Regions from separate parts of the Homo sapiens genome. Here regions 1 and 3 are each linked to region 2. Evidence: promoter capture Hi-C in 16 types of primary human blood cells and fetal thymus (Javierre and others, 2016). All regions are on one chromosome and are shown on one strand. The core of a region is centred on a gene start or on the middle of the fragment in contact, and the rest is flanking DNA. Distances in the headings are between cores, read along the strand shown. Region 1 holds the start of TBC1D10B (TBC1 domain family member 10B). Region 2 holds the start of TUFM (Tu translation elongation factor, mitochondrial). Region 3 holds the start of TAOK2 (TAO kinase 2).

Region 1 (3,015 bases), core at 354-2,853, 1.5 Mb before region 2:
GAGATGGGAAAGGTGAGGAGAAGGAGATCAGACACTGAGTGGGAATTGACAGGACATGGGGCTGAGTTGGGAGTGAGGGACCTTAGAGGACTCAGAAACCAAGGAGGAGCTGAGAAGTCGGGAGCTAGGTCTCACTGGAATTCCAGGATGGTGGATGCTATATGGAAATCAGAATATGGGGGTCAGAGAAAGAAGAGGGCGTTTAGAAGTTGGAAGGTTGGAGCTCATAACGTCAGGTCTTTATGCTTGTGATCTAAGGACAACCTGGAGCGCTCATGAGATTGAGGTCGGGATTCTCAGTGGAACATGAGGAGCACAGAGGGATGTGGCAGTGAGGGGAGAGGGGTTGACGGGACTGGGGCCTTGGATCCCCAAAAGAATAGTAACACACATATGGGGAGTTCATGGTATTAGGGATTCATGGATTTGGGGTTTGAGATCCCCACTAGAAGAAATGGAGGGGGTACTCAGAGGGATAAGGTCTGAGGAACTGGAGCCTGGGTTCTGGGGAGGAGCTCAGATAGATGGGAACTGAGGAGAGGGACTTGGAGGTTGGGATTCCCGCAGGAAATGGGTGAAGCAGAGATATGGGTTGCTTATAGGATCTGGGGGCTCTGGCTATTGCCACCTGGGCCTGGAGTGTTGGGGTTAGTTGGGGGCCGAGATCGGAGAATTATAGAGTAAAGGATGAGAGTACTGGGTCAGGGCACTGGATCTGTGGTGGGGCTCAGGGTCCCACAGACCACCAGAGTGTGGGGCTCAGGAGCTGAACGAAGAATAGGGGACCGGAAAGGACTCGAGAGGGGGCAGCGCGGCACTCATTGGTTGAGGGCTGCACTAATGCCCCCGCCCCTTCTCCGTGCTGTCCCCAGCTGTCACCCTCCCATAAGGCTTGTCTCCGGTTGTCACCGACTATCCCTGGGCTGGCACCGCCTGCTGGCAGCATCTTTGCCCTTTGGATGCTCCCATTGGCTGAGACAGCTATCTATTTTCCTGTCCTGTGGCCAAAGTGGGAGAACACGATCATTGGCTGACGGGGCGAATTAATCTCTAGCTTGCCCCGCCTCCTCCCAGCTGTCATTCCTTACTGACCATTTTGGGAGACCTAAAGAATTCTTCAGCTCTTCCTATTGACTGCGGATGCTGTCTGTCACCGCCTAAATAGACATCACTGCCTGTCAATTTGACCTCCACCTGCTCCCCTTTTCATTGGCTCCCTTTTTACCATTCCTATTGGTTAAGAAGCCTCCAGGCCCCACCTCTTACTCGCACAGCCCTGCCTCCTCCTCCGCCCTTCCGCGGTCATTCACCCTTCAGTCATATTCATTGGCCAGGAGGTTCAGACCCCTGCGTTTCTATTGGTTATTTCTTTCGTCCCATCGCCCCCTGCCTTTCCTCGTCCTCTGATTGGTCTTACAGCCCTAGCTTTCTCCGTTTCCTCTTTCCAGATGACCCACCCCTTTTTCGCCTCCAGCCCCGCCCACGATTCCAACGATTGGCAGAAGCCCAGTTCTCTCTCTCCCACTATTCGTCCAAATCCTCTGACTAGGCGGGAGAAAAAAGGAGCGCGATGAGCCAGTCCGCGCGCAGGCGTGGAACGCCGAGACGCTGGCGCGGAGCCGGCTCTGCGGCGTGTGCGCAGGCGCGAGGTCGGCGGCTCGCCCCCAAGCAGGAGGGAGGGGGCGGTGGCGAGAGCGCGCGAGGGGGTGAGAGGGCTCGAGAGAGACCCCGGCGCGCGGCGCCCCCCGACCCCTGCCCCGCCTCTGCGCGCCCAGCGGCCGCTCCGCCCCCGGCGCGCGCCGAGCCGCGCCCTTCGCCCTCTCCCCTTTCTCGGCTGGCCTCGCCGGGAGGCCCGAGGGGCGGCGCCTTCTGCGGCCTCCCCGGCGGGGGGATGTGAGGGGCGGCCCGCGGCCATGGAGACGGGCACGGCGCCCCTGGTGGCCCCGCCGCGCCGTCATGGCGCCCCCGCGGCCCCCTCGCCGCCGCCCCGGGGTTCCCGGGCCGGGCCCGTCGTGGTGGTGGCTCCGGGACCTCCAGTGACTACGGCCACTTCGGCCCCCGTCACCCTGGTGGCCCCCGGGGAGGCGCGGCCCGCCTGGGTCCCGGGGTCGGCCGAGACCTCTGCTCCGGCCCCGGCCCCAGCCCCGGCCCCAGCCCCGGCTGTCACGGGCAGCACGGTGGTGGTGCTGACCCTGGAGGCCTCGCCCGAAGCCCCAAAGCCGCAGCTCCCCTCCGGCCCGGAATCCCCAGAGCCCGCGGCAGTGGCTGGAGTTGAGACATCGAGGGCTCTGGCCGCAGGGGCAGACTCGCCGAAGACAGAGGAGGCTCGACCCTCACCCGCCCCAGGACCAGGGACCCCCACCGGGACCCCTACCAGGACCCCTTCCAGAACGGCTCCTGGTGCCCTGACCGCCAAACCCCCGCTTGCCCCCAAGCCGGGAACCACAGTGGCCTCAGGAGTGACTGCACGGAGTGCATCAGGACAAGTGACAGGTGGGCATGGAGCTGCCGCAGCAACATCAGCATCAGCAGGACAGGCTCCTGAGGACCCCTCAGGCCCTGGCACAGGCCCCTCTGGGACTTGTGAGGCTCCGGTAGCTGTCGTGACCGTGACCCCAGCTCCGGAGCCTGCTGAAAACTCTCAAGACCTGGGCTCCACGTCCAGCCTGGGACCTGGCATCTCTGGGCCTCGAGGGCAGGCCCCGGACACGCTGAGTTACTTGGACTCCGTGAGCCTCATGTCTGGGACCTTGGAGTCCTTGGCGGATGATGTGAGCTCCATGGGCTCAGATTCAGAGATAAACGGGCTGGCCCTGCGCAAGACGGACAAGTATGGCTTCCTTGGGGGCAGCCAGTACTCGGGCAGCCTGTGAGTACCAGTGGGCACCCAGCGGGACCGCCTCGGGGAAGCAAAGGTTGGGGGAGGGCGAAACGAAAACGATACACTTTGCCCAGACTCTGGCAGCCCAGCCTCCTCTGAGGATCCACGGGGTGATCAGCGCGAGCTGCCGTGTC
Region 2 (3,114 bases), core at 600-3,099:
AAAGTGCTAGGATTACAGGTGTGAGCCACCACGCCTGGCCAAAATATTTTTATAGAGATGGGGTCTTTCTTGGCTGAGCGTGGTAGCTCACGCCTGTAGTCCCAGCACTTTGGGAGGCCACAATGGGCGGATCACTTGAGGTCTGGAGTTCGAGAGCCGTCTGGCCAACGAGGTGAAACCCCATCTGTACTAAAAATACTAAAATTAGCCAGGCGTGGTGGCACATGCCTGTAGTCCCAGCTACTCAGGAGGCTGAGGTGGGAGAATTGCTTCAACCCAGGAGGTGGAGGTTGCAGTGAGCCGAGATCGCCCCATTGCACTCCAGCCTGGGCGACAGAGTGAGACTCTGTCTCCAAAAAAAAAAAAAAAAAAAAAAAAAAGATGGGGTCTTTCTCTGTCACTCACGGTGGGGTGCAGTGTCATGATCATACCTCACCACAGCCTTGAACTCCTGAGCTCAGGCGATCCTCCTGCCTCGGCCTCCTGAGTAGGAGGGGCTATAGCTGCATGCTACTGTGCCTGGCTAATTTTAAATTTTTTTTTGTAGAGATAGGGTCTCCTAATCTGCCCAGGCTGGTCTTGAACTCCTGGCTTCAAACCGTCCTCCCACCTCAGCCTCCCAAACTGCTGGGACTATAGGCTGGCACTATAGCCACCGTGCCCAGCCTCTTCTCAGTTTTAGAAGAGTGTTTGTTATATAGCTTCCCAGTCTGTGCATAGACCCCACGGAATCATAACCTCCAGGGGAGGAATTAGGGAATCTATTTGAAACAAACACTGTCCACTGAGTCTCAGGATCTGATGAGTTCCGAAACATTAGCCAGGGTTAAGCAGCCATAATTAACACTTTGGAGTGCCCTGTGGAAGCTGCCATGAGATGATGGATGTGAAAGTTAAGGGACATTGACTACCCTTGCACCCATTCATTCAACATTCACTGCATGCTCCACCCTGTTAGGTGCTGGGGACACCGACAGATTAAAGGAGACTCAGGCTCCCCTTAAAGGCTCCCCTAGCTGGCTCCTCATCCTTGGCTCCTCATCTGCAAAATTAGATGGGTGGGGCGATGCCCAACGGAACTGCTCCTTAGGCTGCTGAGGGACTACAGGGGTGGGCAGCGAAGCTGTCTGTCTTGTGGGCTCTGGCCCTGTGAGGTCTAGCAGTACAGGGTCCCCGCAAGCTGCCTGACCTCACAGGGCCCAACACTGACTCCTACCCAGTTCATCTCCTCTCAGGGCTAGATGTCAGGCTCTCCCTATGAAGTGGATACTACTATTCCCATTTTACAGATTAGAAAACAAAGTCTCAGCGAAGAGGGAGGTCACACTTCACCCCATCCCCGAAAGGCGTCCAGGACCTGGTCCCCTACCTCCAGCTGCGGCAGAGGCGGCCAGATATCTCGCAAGACCCGCGTAGCGAGTCGGACTCCGGGGGACTCGGGGTCTCTCTCTGCCGGGCCCAGGAGGAGGTTCCTGAGCAGTCGGAGCCGCAGCTGCCTCCCGGAGCCCGAGCCCCTCCCTCCGGGTCCGGCCTAGCCCGCCTGACTCCCACTCTGATCACCTCCACAGCCCGCCGACCTGAGAACTACTACGCCCATGAGCCTTCGCGGCGCCGGTGATTTAGGGGACGCTCCTCAGTGCCCCCTGCGACCGCCAGAGAGAACTACGTTGCCCCTCAGCCCGAGAGGCGCGAGTGGTGGAAAACCTCTCCATCATACTCCGCCCTCGAGACACCAGCCCCCTCCATGACGTCTTCAGCCGCGCGCCCGACGTCGGCTGAGACGGCCATAGACACTGGCGGCTAGAGGGGCCCGGACTTGCCCTCCCAGCTCTAACTTCCGCCGGAAGTGCCTTCCAGCCGCAGGCGCCCTTCTTCTTCTGTGCGCTCGGGCTCCTGGTCCCGGCTCCCCGGTTACCGGGGCGCGAGTATGACCACAATGGCGGCCGCCACCCTGCTGCGCGCGACGCCCCACTTCAGCGGTGAGTGGTCAGGGAGGGCGATGGCGGCCCAGGAACACTTTGGGGGAGTGGTAGGTGGCTGGGTTCGGTCTGACCCCTTCCCTGCCTGACTCCAAGCTTCGGTCCCGGCAGGTCTCGCCGCCGGCCGGACCTTCCTGCTGCAGGGTCTGTTGCGGCTGCTGAAAGCCCCGGCATTGCCTCTCTTGTGCCGCGGCCTGGCCGTGGAGGCCAAGAAGACTTACGTGCGCGACAAGCCACATGTGAATGTGGGTACCATCGGCCATGTGGACCACGGGAAGACCACGCTGACTGCAGCCATCACGAAGAGTGAGTGGGGTTGGGGCGTCCAGCAGCGCCCTATCTACTGATGGGACCTGGAGCCAGGGAGGCAAGGCCAGCAGAGTGTCTGCTGGAGGAGTTTACTGTGGCCCCAAGAGCCCGAATTTGTGCGACAGGTGGATTGGGAGATGCAAGAGACAAATTTCTCCTGAACAGGAAGAACTTTGTGATCCACCAATGGCTTGGGGATCACAAAGTCGTGGGGAATGCTCTGCAAGCAGAGGCTGTACCCTAAAGAAGTCACAGGGCAGACCCTTAAGGCCCTCTAACATTTCTTTCTGACCCACAGTTCTCTCTGCTGGAAGAGTTAGAGATTGGAGGAGGTTATGTATTTAGGTGGGAGGGTTCAGGGGCGTGGTCTAAGCTCTGCCTCTAGCACTGGAACTTTAGCTGAGAGGTGTGTTCTTTTCCTCCTTTAGTTCTAGCTGAGGGAGGTGGGGCTAAGTTCAAGAAGTACGAGGAGATTGACAATGCCCCGGAGGAGCGAGCTCGGGGTATCACCATCAATGCGGCTCATGTGGAGTATAGCACTGCCGCCCGCCACTACGCCCACACAGACTGCCCGGGTCATGCAGATTATGTTAAGGTGAGGGTTGCTGGGACACTGGAGACAGGGCCAGAAGCTGCCTCTTGTCAGGATAAATGTTAGGCTTGTGGGGAGGAGATTAAGATATTCAGTGTTTGGGTATGAGATGGCAGGTTTGTGGTCTTGGCCACGCAGAATGGGTGGTGAGGAGATGGTAGAGAAAGGTGGGCCTGAGTTTCTAACTGCTACACTTGGCTATATGGATGTGAACTGAAGAGCTCGTTGAACTTG
Region 3 (2,898 bases), core at 294-2,793, 1.1 Mb before region 2:
TGATTGAGGACTTGAGTTCAAATTCTGGTTCTGCCACTGTGTGACCTTGGGCAACCTCTCTCGGCCTCAACGTTCTCAACTGTAAAATGGGAAGATGCCAATAAAAGAGGCCCCCACAGGGTGAATGCGGGGATGTCACATGAGAGAATGGCTGTCAAAGCACTTTGTAAAAGACAGATCGTTTGACAAATGGATGAGATTATTGACACCATCACAGCAAGAGGTTGGAAGGTAACTGCAGCTGGGGGAAAACATTGCCAGGCACCTCCAAGCACACACACACACGCATACACACAAACACATATACACACACTTCCTTGCAAGGACAAGAAATCCAACCAGACCAGGCCTGAAAAGCAGATAAGCAGACCCACCATGGGAATCAGAGGCATGGGAATCAAAACCACAGAATAGCCAGGAGAACGGGACATATCAGGGAGGAGAGGTGGCTGTGAGGGGCAAAGTGAAGGAGAGAAGACTGAAGTGCAAATCCATCTGATTAGCTGAAGCACCCTAGGGTGTGAACGCCGGTGACATCAGAGACCCTGTCACCTGAGGTCCCCCACCAACCAGACACAATGAAGGGAAGAGGAAGGGGAAGGGGGTGGCAACAGAAGGCAAGGCTAGCCAGAGGCTGACCACTCGCTCAGCTGGGCTTCCCCATCCTGAGAGGGCCTACCCAAGTCCAGCTTCTCAGAAAGGCGCACCCTTTCTTCTCAGAACTAGACACAGGGACCCGCGCCCCTGCACCCCGTGTCTCACCTGGTAGGGGTCACTATGGTGCCCCAGCGCCTCCGCTTCCGCCTGGGGTCCTCCAGCGGCTCTGCCAAGCAGGGAGAGGGGCAAGGAGACCTTTCCCCTTGCCACCTCTTCCTCGGCTTTCGCCCTTCCTGAGGGGCGGGCCCGGGAAGCCTCCCCTGGAGGGGAGGGGGTGACAACCTAATCTGACCTCGCGGTCCAGTCCTCCCCCTCGTCGAGGGCGACAGCTGCCGAATTCCGGATTTCTGATTGTGGGGTCTGAACCCCGAATATCTGAACGGGATGGAGACTGAATCCGATATTTGAACGCCCGGGGAATGAACCCCGGATACTGGTGCACGCAGGGGCCTGAACCTGATATTTGAAATTCTATGAAACAGAGACCCAGGTTTAGAGAGGTTGGGACCCGAGTCCCGGATATCTGGACTATGAGGACTGTTACCCGGGTATCTGAGAAAGGAGGAGGGGCAAAGCCTGGAAATTTGGGACCCAGGGGCCTGAGCTGTAGGTCTTCGGCCACCGACTGGGGGCCCACCCCGAGGACGTCCGGCCGCACGGCCCCTCTCACGCCGGGGTCCGAGGGTGACAGCCCCCACTCCCGCCCCGGCCTCCTCCCTCTCCCTTCTCTCTTCCGAGAATAGCTGAACGATTGTAGCTAAGGTGCTGCTGACGGTCCCCGCGCCCTCTCTGCCTCTCCTCTTCTCCGTCTCAGCCTCTCTCCGCACCACAGCCCCGGTCTCGTCCCGGTCTCCCTCTCCCTCTTCCTCCCAATTCCAAGATGGAGACCGGGCGGGAGCGCGCAGGCGCGGTAGGGACGCCGGGCTAAAGGGGGCGGGGGCGCAGAGGACTCAGCCCCGCCCTCTCTCCTCACTGCCGCGGCCTGGGAGACCGGCAGCCGCCAAGCCCGAGTGCGCGCCCGCCCCGCCACGCGGACCCCAGGCCGGAGGAGGCGGGGAGAAGAGCTAGACTTGCAAGGGGAGGAGCCCGGCACTCTGTCCCACGACTGGCGGTGGACAGAGCTGCAGCGCATGCGCTCGCCCCGCCTTCGCTCTGAGCCCGAGCTTGTTGCTAGGGGAAGCTTTGAGGGGGCGCGGGTGGACGGACAGCAGCGGCGATCTGCGACTGCGCGCAGGGTGGAAGTTGGGAGGGGCAAAGGAAGCTGCTGCTGGGCGCGGAAAAGGCGGGAAAATAGACTGCTCCGAGGTTAGCAACCATCTAACCTGGAAAAGGGCCTCCAAGTGCGAGGAATCTTTGCGCGTCGACGCTGGGAAAACTCAATCGGTCAAATCTCTTACGGAAATTGAGGCGCTGCAGGTTGCAAGACTTGCCAAGGTCACAGTGCATTTATGTCACAGCATTTCCATGACCTGACACCCCACCCGCCCAACTAACTGTAATTATCCATTTTATTTCGTAGAAGAAAACAAGACAGGTGTTTACCAAAGCCAAGTCAACCATGGGGAGAGCTCAAGTAACCTATGCCCTATGCCAACCTGTGTCCAAACTAGAGAGTCAACAGGAAAGAGTCCCCCAAAACTTCTAAGCCTGCCTACCCTAAAATCCCCACCTCAATCCAACCCCCAATAAACACCATACACGCCACTGGGCAAAAAAGCTTTTTATTTTCCCCCACATTCCAGCTCTTCACTTTTTCTAAAACCTTTTCCAACTCAGAGCCAAGGCCCAAGAAGTTGATTCACACCTGGGGAGAAAGAAAATAAAACAACAAAACAGGTCGAAGAGCTGCTAGAGGAAGCTCTGAGATGTGTGCAGAAATTGAGGAAGGAGCAGAGGGAGTGACAGCTAGAGACCAATACGGGCATTTAATCCCAACTAAGGTAGCCTCAGGACCCCAGGGTCTGTCAGGGGCCAGGAAGCCCTCCTTTCCCAGTCCAAGGTTGAGAGGGTCCTGTCATTTCCTGTCCCAAGTAGGTGGTTGGGGCATTTAGGCCCAGCCATCAGCAAAATAAGCACAGTTGATCTTGAGCTTCCACTTCCTCTGGCCTGATCAGTTCCCTGGGCCTCAACTATTTCCACTTTTCCCATAGTAACTTCCTAGGGCACTGCAGCCAGCTGAAGCTGAGACCAGTTCAAGAGCTGGATGCATAACACATGGCTCTCAAATTTCATGCACCCCCC

The links. Contacts are between HindIII fragments. The CHiCAGO score rates a contact against its expected background, and 5 or more counts as called.
Region 1: a contact is called between the fragment with the promoter of TBC1D10B here and the fragment with the promoter of TUFM in region 2, in 1 of 17 cell types (fetal thymus). The highest score is 6.6, in fetal thymus.
Region 3: a contact is called between the fragment with the promoter of TAOK2 here and the fragment with the promoter of TUFM in region 2, in 1 of 17 cell types (non-activated CD4 T cells). The highest score is 5.1, in non-activated CD4 T cells.

Annotation. Positions count from the first base shown.
Region 1 is chr16:30,369,082-30,372,096 of GRCh38, reverse strand. TBC1D10B (TBC1 domain family member 10B) reads left to right here and starts at 1,603. Exons shown (of 9, transcript NM_015527.4): 1 at 1,603-2,869. The coding sequence starts at 1,914. It also overlaps a transcript of MYL11 not described here. RefSeq lists silencers at 1,718-2,007, 2,098-2,177. The HindIII fragment of the contact is 4,560 bases long and covers 1-3,015 here.
Region 2 is chr16:28,845,083-28,848,196 of GRCh38, reverse strand. TUFM (Tu translation elongation factor, mitochondrial) reads left to right here and starts at 1,849. Exons shown (of 10, transcript NM_003321.5): 1 at 1,849-1,979; 2 at 2,091-2,285; 3 at 2,717-2,883. The coding sequence starts at 1,928. It also overlaps a transcript of SH2B1 not described here. RefSeq lists an enhancer at 1,498-1,987. The HindIII fragment of the contact is 15,792 bases long and covers 1-2,077 here.
Region 3 is chr16:29,972,513-29,975,410 of GRCh38, reverse strand. It overlaps TAOK2 (TAO kinase 2), which reads right to left and starts at 1,543. Exons shown (of 16, transcript NM_016151.4): 1 at 763-1,543. TMEM219 (transmembrane protein 219) reads right to left here. Exons shown (of 6, transcript NM_001083613.2): 6 at 2,363-2,461. LOC124903762 reads right to left here and starts at 1,789. Exons shown (of 2, transcript XM_047435036.1): 1 at 1,631-1,789; 2 at 776-1,414. The coding sequence starts at 1,789. The coding sequence ends at 776. RefSeq lists enhancers at 453-582, 289-1,060 and a silencer at 1,484-1,853. The HindIII fragment of the contact is 1,984 bases long and covers 1-1,839 here.